Linked DNA regions of Homo sapiens: region 1 is linked to region 2. Evidence: promoter capture Hi-C in 16 types of primary human blood cells and fetal thymus (Javierre and others, 2016). All regions are on one chromosome and are shown on one strand. The core of a region is centred on a gene start or on the middle of the fragment in contact, and the rest is flanking DNA. Distances in the headings are between cores, read along the strand shown.

Region 1 (3,936 bases), core at 1,315-3,814, 220 kb before region 2:
AGATCTGCCACACCTGCCACATGCTGCCATCTCTGAGCCTCCAGCCCCAGGAGGGCAGAGGGTATAAACCACCGTGCATTGCCCAGCCTGGGGCTGCCTCAGGCCATCTAGGTTTCATGGCCTGGGCTGACTCTGCTCCTGGCCCCACAGTGCCTCAGATGGCTCCACGGAGACCCTGGCCATGGTTGTGGTAGAGCCTGGGGACACGCTGTCCTCCCCCGAGTTCGACAGCGGTCCTTTCAGCTCCCAGTCTGATGAGACCTCTCTCAGCACCACTGCCTCATCTGCCACGCCCACCAGTGAGCTGCTGCCCCTGGGTCCGGTGGACGGCCGCTCCTGCTCCATGGACTCTGCCTACGGCACCCTCTCCCCAACCTCCTTACAAGACTTTGTGGCCCCAGGCCCAATGGCAGAGCTAGTGCCTCGGGCCCCAGAGTCCCCACGAGTTCCTTCCCCTCCACCCTCGCCCCGTCTCCGCCGCCGCACCCCTGTCCAGCTGTTGAGCTGCCCGCCCCACCTGCTCAAGTCTAAGTCCGAGGCCAGCCTCCTCCAGCTGCTGGCAGGGGCTGGCACCCATGGGACACCCTCTGCCCCCAGCCGCAGCCTGTCAGAGCTCTGCCTGGCTGTTCCAGCCCCAGGTATTAGGACTCAGGGCTCCCCTCAGGAAGCTGGGCCCAGCTGGGATTGCCGAGGGGCCCCTAGCCCTGGCAGCGGTCCTGGGCTAGTCGGCTGCCTGGCCGGGGAACCTGCAGGCTCCCACAGGAAGAGGTGTGGAGACCTGCCCTCGGGGGCCTCTCCCAGGGTCCAGCCTGAGCCCCCACCAGGGGTCTCTGCCCAGCACAGGAAGCTGACCCTGGCCCAGCTCTACCGAATCAGGACCACCCTGCTGCTTAACTCCACGCTCACTGCCTCGTGAGTGGCCTGGACTGGGGTAGGGCAGGTGGCTCAGGGCACTGGCATGGGGGCCCACTCATGCCTGGGAGCATCGCATTTGGGGAGGGTCATGGCGGAGGGAGCCTGAACCCTGCCCAGTGTCTGGGCGCAGGGGGCTGTGGTGGGCAGCAGTGAAGGGGCCTGAGGAGTGCCGTGGGGAAGAGAGGGTGACCAGAGCCACTCTGAATGGCGTCAGCCAAAGAAGGACTCTGTCCCCTCCCCACCCTGTAGGGAGGTCTGAGCAGAGGGAGGCCCCCAAGAGTGCCATTGACCAAGAGACAGCAGACAGCCTGCCTCCTGGGGCGTGCCGGCACCTGCTTCAGCTACTGCCTCCTGTATGCATGAGCCGGATGCTGGGCAGGATCCCTGCCTACGCCCGGGCCCGATTTGCGCTTTGCCGGACTGGATGGAGTGGAGGAGGCCCAGGCCACAGTACCACCCCACCTGCCCAGGCAGCCCCTCGTCACCTACTCCCCGAAGTTACCAGCTCAGCTCGAGTCTTCAGGGCTGGGCTCCTAGGCTGCCCATCCTACTTCTACCCTCACTGGCCTCCAGTGGGATTCACTCCTGCCCTGCCCCCACCTTCCCAGTCCCACAGGCCACCCCTGGCTTGGGCTGGGTTCTGTGAAGTTACGTATTTATTGAGCTTTTGGTTCTTTTATAAAGACTTGTCTAGACTCCACTGGGAAGAGTCCTTTGCTTTGGGGCCCAGTGACTCGGGGCACTTGAGTTCAGGGCGGCCTCCTTGTGTTCCTGTGCTCCTCCACTTGCCACGGATGGGCCACGGATGGAGCTTGCCATGGGAAGCACTGGGAAGTAATGGGGTGTGGGGTGCCACCAGACCAACACCCCCAGACTTCCCCACCTTCAGCCACCATCAGAGCCTCTCCCCAGGTGCCCCCCGGGGATTCAGGGCTGAATCTGCCCAGTTCCCACACTCAGGCCAGCCCTCTTGGGAAGGTGGGTCCTCCATGGGGGTCCCTTCAGGAACTTTTTTTTTTTTTTTAATACAGAGTCTCACTCTGTCACCTAGGTTGGAGTGCAGTGGTGTGATGTCGGCTCACTGCAACCTCTGCCTCCCGGGTTCAAACGATTCTCCTGCCCCAGCCACTCTAGTAGCTGGAACTGCAGGTGTGCACCACCACGCCGGGCTAGTTTTTGTATTTTAAGTAGAGACGGCATTTCACCATATTGGTCAGGCTGGTCTCGAACTCCTGACCCCAAGTGTTCCGCCCGCCTCTGCCTCCCATAGTGCTAGAATTACAGGCCTGAGCTACTGCGCTTGGCCCCTTGCGGTACTTTTGGCCCAACCTCCTCCATGGCTGGGGACGCGGAGGCCGAGAGAGAAGTCACTTGCCCTGGCTCTACCTTGAAGTGGTTCTCAGGGTTGGGGCGAGAGTCGGGGTGGGGACCGAGATGCAGCTCTATCCTGTGCCCCTGGTCGCAGCAGGCAGCCCAGCGCTTCGCGTGTTCTACTTGGCCTGTCCGCTGCCGCCTAATGAGCTCAGGTCTAGGCCGAGCAGAGGGGGCACCTGGTCGGACTCGGTTGGGCTCGGGCGGCCCCGCCTCCCCCCGCCCGCCAGGCGGGCCCTTCTCGACGGCGCGGGGCGGGCCCTGCGGGCGCGGGGCTGAAGGCGGAACCACGACGGGCAGAGAGCACGGAGCCGGGAAGCCCCTGGGCGCCCGTCGGAGGGCTATGGAGCAGCGGCCGCGGGGCTGCGCGGCGGTGGCGGCGGTGAGTTGAGACGCAGGAGGCTAGGGGCAGCTTTGAGCCCTGTCCCAAGAGCCTCGGTGAAGGAAGGGGCCCCGGGCGCGTCTCCACTCCAAGCCTCACTGGGGGCTGGGTTGGCCGCCCTTTCCGATCTCGTTAAAGGCTCCTCCAGGGCGTAGCCCTTCCACTGAGAGGAAACCCCTCCCAGGAGGGTCTGGGGGCCCCAGGCAGAGCATTATCAGTGTCCCTCCCCCAACAGAAAGCATGGGTGGGGGTGGGGGCGCTGCTGGATTCCTGCTCTGGTGGAGGGGAAACTTGTGAGGGGCTGGTAAGCGCCCCCTCCGAAGCCTGGTGTGTGCGCGGGGGGAAGGAAGTTAGTTTCCTCTCCACCCATGGGCACCCCTTCTGCCCGGGGCCTGGGAAGTGGGCTGCTCTGTGGGCAAATGCTGGGGCCTCTGAAATGGAGGAGACGCAGCAGGGAGAGGCCCCACGTGGGCAGCTGCGCTGAGAGTCAGCAGCACCTGTCCCCCAGGCGCTCCTCCTGGTGCTGCTGGGGGCCCGGGCCCAGGGCGGCACTCGTAGCCCCAGGTGTGACTGTGCCGGTGACTTCCACAAGAAGATTGGTCTGTTTTGTTGCAGAGGCTGCCCAGCGGGTAAGTGGCCACAGGGGTGGGAGAGGCATGGGGCAGGCAGGGCTGGAGAGGTGGCGGGCAGGCCCGGGAGGTAAGAGGAGGCTGGCAGGGGAGGTAGGGGTAGGCTGACAGAGAAGTAGGGAGCTGGAGAGAAAGAGGGAGGGAGGGCAGGGTGGGAAGCAGGTCGGGGGTTGCTGGGCAGCCCCTCTGCCTGCCTGACCCCTGCCTGGTTCCACAGGGCACTACCTGAAGGCCCCTTGCACGGAGCCCTGCGGCAACTCCACCTGCCTTGTGTGTCCCCAAGACACCTTCTTGGCCTGGGAGAACCACCATAATTCTGAATGTGCCCGCTGCCAGGCCTGTGATGAGCAGGGTGAGGGGCTTCTCAGTGCTTGGCAGGGAGTTCCTAAGGACAGGCCTTTCTGAAGGAAGTGGCTGGCTCGGGCCCAAACTTGGGGTGTGAGGGTCCTGCACCCACCCTTGCCAGAACCCTCCACCCTGATCCTCCTTCAGGGTGCCCTTGCCCCTTCTCTCTTCCTGGTGACCTTCCCATCTCTCCATGTGCCTTGGCCTCTGGTCGGCCTTAATCTCTGAGCTTCTCTCTTTTTTAGGGTAGCCCTGTACCTGTCTGTCTTTCGCCTATTTCTGTCTCCATTATCT
Region 2 (3,672 bases), core at 5-2,504:
ACTCGACGCTGGCTGCGGCGGGGGGACGCTGGCGGACGAGCCAGGGAGACTTTCGGGGAGGAGGAGCAGGGGTGGTGGGGACCGCGGGCCGCCGGCGGCCGGAGCAGGAGCCCAGACGGCAGGGGTGCAAGGGCGGAACAGCGCGGGCGCCTCCTGGCCCAACCCGGCGCTGTCCATGGTGCTGCCGGCGGCGCTCTCGGGCACCAGGGGGCAGCGCAGGCCGCTGCCGACCTCATCTCCGCGCCGAAGGAGCTGGCTCACGCCGGGCAGGCAGCTGCGGAAGCCCGACGGTTGCTCGGCTCCCCTGGGCACAGGCCAGAGCCCTGTGGGGAAGAGCGGACGCGAGAAACAGGGAGGGGAAGAGAGGGAAGGGGAAGGGGAGGGGGAGGGAGAGGAGGGGAAGGGGGAGGGAGGGGAGGGGAGGAAGGGAGGGAGGAGAGGGGAGTGGAGGTGGAGGGGAAAGGAGGGAGGAAGCGTGTTGAGGAAGGGAAGAGGAGGGCGGAGGTCAGACGACCCGAACGTCTCCCCCGGGGTCCAGACCTACCACCCAGATTGCAATCGCACAGCCAGCCCGGGCTTTACTGCTCCTCCCTCGCCCCCTAGCGAGCTGGGGCCCCCTCCTCACCAACTGCACCTGCCTCCGAGTTGTCCTCTTTATATTTGCTGTCTTGCCATGTTGCCCAGGCTGGTCTCAAAAGCCCGGGGTCAAGCGGTCCTTGAGGTATCCCTCTTTATTTGGCCTTGTGCATCCCTGGCTCTGATCCCACAAGCCTCCCCCTCCTCCCTCCAGCCCTCCCCTATACCTTGCAAGGAGTTCTGAAGGCTTCTCATGTACTTCACGCTCAACTCCAGGATGTCGGCCTTCTCCAATTTGCGCTTCCGGATCTACCCGACCATGGAAAGGTCTATTAGACCGGCCTCCCGAGGTGGAGAGAGGGAGGTTGGGATCGTATCACCCACCCACCCCCACCCCGCCTGAGTCTCACCTGGTGCGAGTAGTGTTTCTCCAGCAGCGACTTGAGCTGCTCCAGTGACACATTGATGCGTGCCCGGCGCTTTTTCTCCATCAGCGGCTTGGAAATCTGCAGATGAACAGCCTTTAGAGTGCAGGACTGCCACCCTCCTGCCCTCGGCACCCCCCCACACCTCCCGGGGAAGGGTGCCTGCCCCTAGTCCCTCAAGACCCCAGACCTTTCGGAAGTTGCCGGGGAGGCTGCCCCGGGCAGCAGGCTCCGTGCCCATGTTGCAGTCCATGCACCAGTGCGAGGCAGCGCCGCCTTTATAGGGACCCTCGTTTACATGTCAATGAGGCCCTCTGGACTCTAGAAACCTTGAGGAGGAGGGGACCGAGGGAGGACGCACTGGGAAGCTCCCCACCTCCTTCCCTCAGCCCCCTCCCATAGCCTAGGCTTCCTCTCACCTTCAGGACCCCCCCTGTCTCCCGAGGGACCCCCCCCTCCCCTTTATCTGTCTTTTCCTTATCTCTCTGGCCTCCACCACTTCCCCAGTCTGAGGACCCCTGCCATGCCCACCCCCTCCATGCCCATCCTGTCCCAATCCCCGTAAGTTCTCCAGTCCCACTTGCCAAGTCCTTGATACCCTGGAGTGCAAGCATTCCAGGGGTCACCTACTGGGGAGGTACATGGGCCAGCTGGCCACAGGCTGCCTCACTGACTATGACAGGGCTCTGGGCTCCCTCGGGACTGATGAAGATGCCAAGGCGACGCCTCTTTATGCACTTCATGCTCTGGTTATACCCGCAACGCCGCATTAGTTGCCCTAATGTCGGGACAATGCAGCAATTTTCTGCCTGTGGCTGCTCAAAGCCAGGCACAAGCTGAGCCCGCGGGGGCCATGCAGCAGCCTGTGTCCCATTAAAGCATGCAGCCCACCCGCGGGGCCACAGCCAGCCTCATCCTTGCTGGGGCCTTGGGATTGGGAGGGGTCCTGGTGAGGGTGCAGCCTGGGTCCTGTGTTCTCTGACACTGCTAGGATCCAACGCGGACTTCCCACAGGAGGCAGGTGGGGTGAACACGGCTGCCTCTCCCTTCCTTACAGCCCTGGGCTTCCAGGCTGGGTGGCTTTGGTGGTAGACCCTGTCCCCATGGAGAAGCACTAGAAGTCTACTCCCATGAGCCTGCTCTCAGCTCCACGCACAGGTGGTGGTGGCAGGAGACCACTGACATTCTGGGAAGAGCTCCAGGCCACACTTCGAGAGATCCAGGGCCCGCACCCCAATCTATGATTCAGACTACGGCGGACCCAGTGGAGGAGGCGCCTGGAGCACTTGCCCCAGGATGGGCTAGGCCTACAGCAAGGCTCTGGGGCCATCCCCCTGGTTGGACTCCAGGAGGCTGAACTGTAGCTGCTGTGATGGACAGGAAGGCTGACCTCCAGGAAGTCCCTGGGTTCAAACCTAGACACCTCCCATGGGCCCTCATGGCTTTAGTTTTTGGGGCTTGTAAAATTATATTCTGAACAATGCAGCCCCCATTGCTTCTGAGGGTGACAGGGAAGTCGCAAAAATTCTGCAGCTGAGCCCTGTGGCAGAGGAATGAACAAACCGGCTTCTGTGTAGGGACTCAGGGTGGGGTGCGCCCCCCAGCTCTATCAAGCCAGGGCATCTCCCCCCAGCCCGCCCCCGCCTACCCTTCCCAGGATAGCGGCGTTCCCAGGCGCCAAGCAGCGTGGAGAATCGCGCCACGCCCTCCCCCTTTCAGGCCGAGGCAGCGGCAACAGCAGCTCTGGGGCTCTGTCCAGCCCGGACCGCAGGGCCCGCGGGCCAGATCCGGGCCGACCCGGGCCTGGGAGGGCGGCGGGGGCCGAGACCAGGCGGCGGGCGCTGGCACGCGCCGGGCAGCTTTGAAGCGCCAGGACCGGCCGGGCCGGGGCGTCCTCCATGCGACTCGCTCCGAGCTTGGGGCGGTGGCGGCGCGGTATAAAGGCACCGCGGGGCGGGCGGGCGGCGCGGCCGGGCACAAAAGGGGCAGCCGAGTGTTAAGGGCATTGTGCGGGCCCCACAAAGCGGCGCCCGCGCCCGCCCCCGCCCCCTCGGGGCCAAACTCCGGGCGCCCCGCCAGGCGCGGACTTCCAGCTGCTGCACATCTGCACAGAGGCCTGGCGCGCGTCGCGCCCCGGCGGGCCTCCCCCTCCCCGCGTTCTCGAGCTGCGGGGCAGCGGGGCAATTTGTCCTCTAATTACAATCCTTCCCTATAAACCGCCGCCCGCGCCTTTCAACTCGAGGGCATTAGCAAACCAATGGCCCTCCGCGCAGCTCTCGCGGCCCGCCGCTGGGTGCCGGGCCCGCCCCCTCTCCTGAGTCCGGGCCGCCATAAAGGGGCCACGAGGCTGCCCCCGCCCGAACCCCGACACCCGCCGTTCCCAGGGCCACCACCCCTCCCAAGCCCGTCCCCTGGGATTCCAGGCGCATCGGGCCGGGGGCGGGGGGACGCTCACGTGGATAGCTTAGTGTTTCTTAAGCAGTGGAAAATTGACCGCAAAATGCTCTAATTCGCAATGTTCTGCTTTGGCTGCGGGAGGCGAGGCCCGCCTCAAGGCCTGGGCGGAATTCTCAGGCGTCGCTCCGCCCTGGTCCACTGAATGGACTTCCGCCTCCGTTGCCCCCCGACCCCAACCCCGACACTGCCCGCCGCGCCCCCTGTCCTGTGGCCC

The links. The method cuts DNA at HindIII sites, captures the fragments that hold promoters and counts their contacts. A CHiCAGO score of 5 or more calls a contact.
Region 1: a contact is called between the fragment with the promoter of TNFRSF25 here and the fragment with the promoter of HES3 in region 2, in 2 of 17 cell types (activated CD4 T cells and naive CD4 T cells). The highest score is 7.7, in activated CD4 T cells.

The regions. Positions count from the first base shown.
Region 1 is chr1:6,464,801-6,468,736 of GRCh38, reverse strand. TNFRSF25 (TNF receptor superfamily member 25) reads left to right here and starts at 2,564. Exons shown (of 10, transcript NM_003790.3): 1 at 2,564-2,668; 2 at 3,177-3,297; 3 at 3,515-3,649. The coding sequence starts at 2,630. PLEKHG5 (pleckstrin homology and RhoGEF domain containing G5) reads left to right here. Exons shown (of 21, transcript NM_020631.6): 20 at 151-912; 21 at 1,165-1,615. The coding sequence ends at 1,174. RefSeq lists an enhancer at 1,795-2,743. The HindIII fragment of the contact is 14,059 bases long and covers 1-3,936 here.
Region 2 is chr1:6,241,761-6,245,432 of GRCh38, reverse strand. It overlaps HES3 (hes family bHLH transcription factor 3), which reads right to left and starts at 1,254. Exons shown (of 4, transcript NM_001024598.4): 1 at 1,192-1,254; 2 at 987-1,082; 3 at 804-885; 4 at 1-323. The coding sequence starts at 1,067. RefSeq lists silencers at 1-127, 1-322 and an enhancer at 559-1,116. The HindIII fragment of the contact is 11,707 bases long and covers 1-3,672 here.